Linked DNA regions of Homo sapiens: region 2 is linked to region 1. Evidence: promoter capture Hi-C in 16 types of primary human blood cells and fetal thymus (Javierre and others, 2016). All regions are on one chromosome and are shown on one strand. The core of a region is centred on a gene start or on the middle of the fragment in contact, and the rest is flanking DNA. Distances in the headings are between cores, read along the strand shown.

Evidence for each region. Contacts are between HindIII fragments. The CHiCAGO score rates a contact against its expected background, and 5 or more counts as called.
Region 2: a fragment that was not itself captured here is called in contact with the fragment with the promoter of ACP6 in region 1 in 1 of 17 cell types (naive CD4 T cells); the score reaches 6.3 in naive CD4 T cells.

The regions. Positions count from the first base shown.
Region 1 is chr1:147,669,165-147,671,958 of GRCh38, reverse strand. ACP6 (acid phosphatase 6, lysophosphatidic) reads left to right here and starts at 1,435. Exons shown (of 10, transcript NM_016361.5): 1 at 1,435-2,129. The coding sequence starts at 1,911. RefSeq lists enhancers at 973-1,042, 1,483-1,732, 2,373-2,432, 1,644-2,587. The HindIII fragment of the contact is 4,251 bases long and covers 962-2,794 here.
Region 2 is chr1:148,253,200-148,256,093 of GRCh38, reverse strand. No RefSeq gene overlaps it. Among named protein-coding and RNA genes, the nearest start is that of TRQ-CTG4-1, 11 kb to the left of the region's middle. The HindIII fragment of the contact is 852 bases long and covers 892-1,743 here.

The DNA.
Region 1 (2,794 bases), core at 186-2,685:
CCAGTAGGTCTCAGCCTCATTTTACCCAGCCGCTATTCAAGATGGAGTCACTATGGTTCAAATGCCTCTGACAGAATCACCTTCTAAAAGTCCTATGTCCAAATGCAGTCACTTAGTGGGTACGAATTTGGCGGGGGACACAACTGAGTCCATAGCAAACAGTATTCGATTTTTAATCACATCAGCACACACAATAAGACTCTGAAAAGTGAGTCCCTTGGCTGGGCTAGGGAGAAAATTGTGACAATATGTAGTGTTCCAAAATGACCCTCCTCCCTGCATCAGGGAGGGGAGCACTCAGAACCTTCCAGCTTGGTGAACAGAATTTGTTCTCAGGCCAGGAGCCATGCTCTGTAAGTATGTTGTCTTTACATCTGGCCCAGTTTGATCTTTGGAGATAGACACATAGTGGGTCCCAGATTGTGTCCTGTTGCAAAGATCTGGAAACACAGGCTTGGGATACCTGTATATCAACAGAAACCAGACTAGCAGGTGGTAAGGCTGGCATTGTTCTGTGTTCTTAGGTTTTTTTTTGTTTTTTTTTTGTAGACGGAGTCTTGCGCTGTTGCCCAAGCTGGAGTCGTGTGGCGCGATCTCGGCTCACTGCAAGCTCCGCCTCCCGGGTTCACGCCATTCTCCTGCCTCAGCCTCCTGAGTAGCTGGGACTACAGGTGCCCGCCACCACGCCTGGCTAATTTTTTTTTTTTTTTTTTTTTGTATTTTTAGTAGAGACGTGGTTTCACCGTGTTAGCCAGGATGGTCTCGATCTCCTGACCTCATGATCTACCCGCCTCGGCCTCCCAAAGTGCTGGGATTACAGGCGTGAGCCATGGCGCCTCTTAGGTTCTTAATCACTGGGACACCCACAGGCAAGGCCTGGCTTTTTCCACAAGAAGTATTCTGGATGGAAGTAAACACATCAGTGACCTGAAAGTTCTACATGATTACAATGACTTAAGCTTGAGAATTTTTTTAAAAACAGAGAAGGGAGTAGTAAATGACTAAATATAAAGCACCTAGTGCTGTGTTTCGCAAATGGCAATCACTCGGCAGGTGTCTCAGCTCCTCGCTGCAGCAACCAGGCTTCCAGGACTGGAAGGAAGTCTTCTACATTCAAAACTAGACTCAAACTACTCCCCTCCACCACCCAGTTCTACTCCTGCGCTCGCGATCCTCCTGCCTGGCAAACTCCATGGCCCGACAGATTCACTACCACTCCACTGCCGGACCAGGCACGTCCGTGGGCCATCCACGCCTGGAAAACGGCTGGCTGGGCCGGAGGGGCGAGGCCCGCAGGCGAGGGGGGCGGGTACAAGCCACTTCTTGGGAGCCGCGGTACGCGCAGCCTTGTGGGAGTTGTAGTTTCCGCAGCTCTGAGTCTCCAGGCGAGGTGTCACCACAGGACTCGTTTTCCCGTGCTCCTGTGCGCGGGTCCACTTGGGACGGGTCCCTGAGTAGGTGAGGAGGTGGGTAGGAGCTTGCTTATAGAAAAGTGGAATCGAGTAGTCCTTGCTGGTGGAGCCGCTGCCGCCAGGGAACTCAGGGCCGGCTCCTGTTCCTTCAAGAGTGCTGGAGGCCAAACTTGAAATACAAGTTTAATGTTCCTCGTCGGGCAAAAGATAAGGATCCGATCTCCCCCGGCCCGGTGTGCAGCAGGAGCGACCAACCCCGACCCGGGTTAAAACTCCCAGGGACTCTTCGCTGCTGCCACCTCTTGTTCTCTCCCCCGTTCCCACTCGGGGTCTCCCTCAGGGCCGGGAGGCACAGCGGTCCCTGCTTGCTGAAGGGCTGGATGTACGCATCCGCAGGTTCCCGCGGACTTGGGGGCGCCCGCTGAGCCCCGGCGCCCGCAGAAGACTTGTGTTTGCCTCCTGCAGCCTCAACCCGGAGGGCAGCGAGGGCCTACCACCATGATCACTGGTGTGTTCAGCATGCGCTTGTGGACCCCAGTGGGCGTCCTGACCTCGCTGGCGTACTGCCTGCACCAGCGGCGGGTGGCCCTGGCCGAGCTGCAGGAGGCCGATGGCCAGTGTCCGGTCGACCGCAGCCTGCTGAAGTTGAAAATGGTGCAGGTCGTGTTTCGACACGGGGCTCGGAGTCCTCTCAAGCCGCTCCCGCTGGAGGAGCAGGTGAGAGGTCGGCCCGGGCTGGGGCTGGTGGGGCGAGGACCGTGTGCCAGGCCAGGAGTCTCGCCCTGACACACATCTTCAGAGCTTTACTCGCGCGGAGCGGGGCTCGGGTTGGGTCCAGAAGAAGGGAAAACAGCAGTAGCCAGTGACTCCCCAGGCTCTTGAGCAAAGGACCTGCTGGGGTTAGGACAGCCCCGGAACTTCCAGTTTTGCCCTGATGGCGCAGCCATCAGTAAGCGCTGCTTAAGACGCATGGGAGTCGCCTGGGGATCCTGCTACGTTGCAGATTCTGATTCAGCAGGTGTGGAGTAGTGCCCCAGGTCAGCATTTCTATTAAGGGTCTAGGTGAACTTGAATACAAGGGTGCAGTGCACTTCTGTGTGACCATTTTGAAGGTGGTTTGTCAGAGCTGAAGGGCTGAAGGGACTTTAGTGATAGGAACCACTCTTAACTGAGATTACAGTGGATAAGAGGTCGTTGCCTTTGGAAACAAACTTTATAACTGCTTTTTCTCAGGGTTTGCTGGAGGCCATTTGAGATCTCCTGAAGTTTTTTTTTGTAACAAGTGTTGTATTCTAGGGTTCTCCTTTTCTATTTAAGGTTACTAAACCTATAGTGGGAGGGATCTGAGGTCGGAACAAATTTAAAATGGGCTAGTCTGTGGC
Region 2 (2,894 bases), core at 68-2,567, 580 kb before region 1:
CATCTACTCGGAGGCTGAGGTGGGGGGATTGCTAGAGCCCAGAAGTTTGAGGCTGTGGTGGGCCATGATGGAGCCACTGCACTCCAGCGTGGGTGACAGAGTGAGAACCTGTTTCAATAAATAAATAAATAAATTATTTTCAACCATTTAAAATATCAATGACAGATTTATTTGGCCTTTTAAGTGCATTGCTAAATTCTCCTCCAATCTACTTCTAAATCTAAAGCAGAGCCTGCTTTAGAAAGAGAAGAGGAAAATGTATTTCAATTTAGAAAAGGGAAGTCTTTTACAATATTCTTAATTCACATTATGGTGAAGCAGTATACACAATAGCAGGCTCCCCTCTTCCTGTGGGTTTTACCTTGAAAGGGGCTGCCAGAACAGAACTTTCAGGGAAGGGGCCAGAGCCCTGGGGACTTTCCTCAGGTGATGGTGATGGAAGAAGAGGCAAGGCAGGACAGGAGGGCTCAGGTAAGGGAGACTATGCAGGTGCAGGGGCAGGAGGAAAAGGAGCAGTTGGAGGCGAAAGAGACAAAGCCTCCTCAATATTTCTCAATTCAGAAAAAGCATCAGATATCCCCAGTTTAAATCCTCAATGGAGGCAATTTTCTCAGTAGTTCTTTTAGAAATTTCTAGGTATCATTGGAAGTAAGTCTCCCATTCAATTTGCCTGATTCTAAAACCAAATTTTTCCAATTGTGTGCCCTAATAAATTATTTTAGTCATTTCAAAAGATCCCCATTTTCTCCATTCTACTTATGAGTTTTTCTGGTTAGGTGGGTCAGGTTTCTTGGATATTTACAAGAGGATGCTTCATAACTGTTATACAGAAACTCAGCTGGTGGTTCTAAACGCGGTTGTTTCTTCAAAGTATGCTCAGATTTTGAAGCTTGATTTCCCATAATTCAGGAGCTTTGCAAAGATGACCAAAATCTGGGATGTGTTTTGGGTCACAGTGTCCTGCTTATGTAGTCACTCCTACAGATATCACCGGAGTTGTGTATCACTGTCTCAGTGGCTCCCACTGTTTCTAACCACCAGGTGGCCACAGAGTGCATCTGCTCTGGGGGACCCATCGCTCATATACCCTCCCATAAGAGCAGGAAAGGGGATTCATAAAGACGTTCTTCTGATGGGGAATGCTCTACGAGGCCGCCTTCACATGGTGAGTAGTGACCGTGACACCTCTGCAGCGTCCCTGGTCACTTGTAGCCCCTGAAAGGGTCATCGGGAGCAGATCACTTCTTTTCTTCAGGGCTGGAGAAAGTACCTCCGTGCATTTTCCAGGTAAGAACTAACAGGGGCCGGGCACATTGGCTTACGCCTGTAATCTCAGCCCTTTGGGAGGCCGAGGTGGGCAGATCACCTGAGGTCAGGAGTTTGAGACCAGCCTGAACAACATGGAGAAACCCTGTATCTACTAAAAACACAAAATTAGTTGGGCGTGGTGGCACGTTTGTAAAACCAGCTACTTGGGAGGCTGAGGCAGGAGAATCACTTGAACCTAGGAGGCGGAGGTTGCGGTGAGCCGAGATCCCGCCATTGCACTCCACCCTGGGCAACAAGAGCAAAACTCCATCTCAAGGAAAAAAAAAAAAACTAACAAGAATTAGTCACAAGTGAAAACCTAAGTTCAAACTTTCATAAAAGCATGCTACAGAAAACAAAACCACCGGTGCCTACCTGCCAATATCTTGACCCAGACCTTCCTGATGAGGGACAGAGGCAGAAAAGGCAGAAGCTTTCCACACAGTCCTTTGCCTGACTGTGACCCAAACTTTCTGTCCTGAGGCAGAGGTGGAAAGGGCAGTTTTTTCCCCCTGAAACTCAAGTCTCTTAACTGGAGGGTAAAGACAGAAAACCTCCATTGTAGAAAGGGAAGGCTGGAAAGGACAACTCAAGCAAACTCCAGGCCTTCAACCAAAGAGTGGGAAGGTCCAGATTTCAGGAGGATTCACCACTTACTGCCCATCTGTTTCTCTGAGTCAGAACGTGAGGATTTCAAAGCTGGCCAGGCACCTAGTCCAGGAGGAATGTGGTCTGAGAGACAAAAATAGATGTCACCTTGTAGACTAAGACAGACTCTAAGGTTAAGAAAACAAGAGTTACCTACGGGTCAAGGATTCAGGGCTGGACTGGCATAGCAACTTCCTAAATTTCTGTGGCTAGAAGAAAAACCACACTCTTGCTAAACTCCTTAACAATAGGAGCTAGCAGGCAAATTGTCAAAATCTTCCCAGCAATTCTCAACTGGATTTACAACCCAGATCACCAGACCTCTGATGGGACAGAGGAGTGCCCTTCCATTCTTTCCTGATAAGCAACTGCAGACCTCAAGCCAGTTTCAGCCATGTTACAGGGACTGCACACAAACCGACTTCATGTCCTATAGTTCACCTTTTGACATAAAGAGCCAATTTCCATCTAATTTTAATGCTAAAATCTCTTCCCAATGTGAAGATGGGGTGCACGTTACATATATGTTTACCCGTTGCACATGAGCTCAACACCCCTCAGAAATGGCGTTTCTCCAAACCTGCTGAATATGTATAACTCCATTGTGTGATACACACCGTGTGAGGCACAAAAACCAACCTGCCCTCTCTCTCTCTCTCTCTGAAGAGAAAGCACCTCTTCAAAGACACACACCGGAGACTGTCTCTTCCTGGACTGCAAACTGATCTCACCAATCAAATTCTTACTACTATGTAGCCACCCTGGAGGCCTTTGAGAGGACAGTCAGATGGTCAGAGATGAGTCGCTCTGCATTCTGCTCCCTGGGCCAAAAACGTCGACCTAGAAGGAAGGGGCTTAAGCACAAACATGATTTAAAAAGTTTGTTTGAGCCAATGTGAGGACACTTGCCTGGAAGACTCAGATCCAAGCAATCTTGG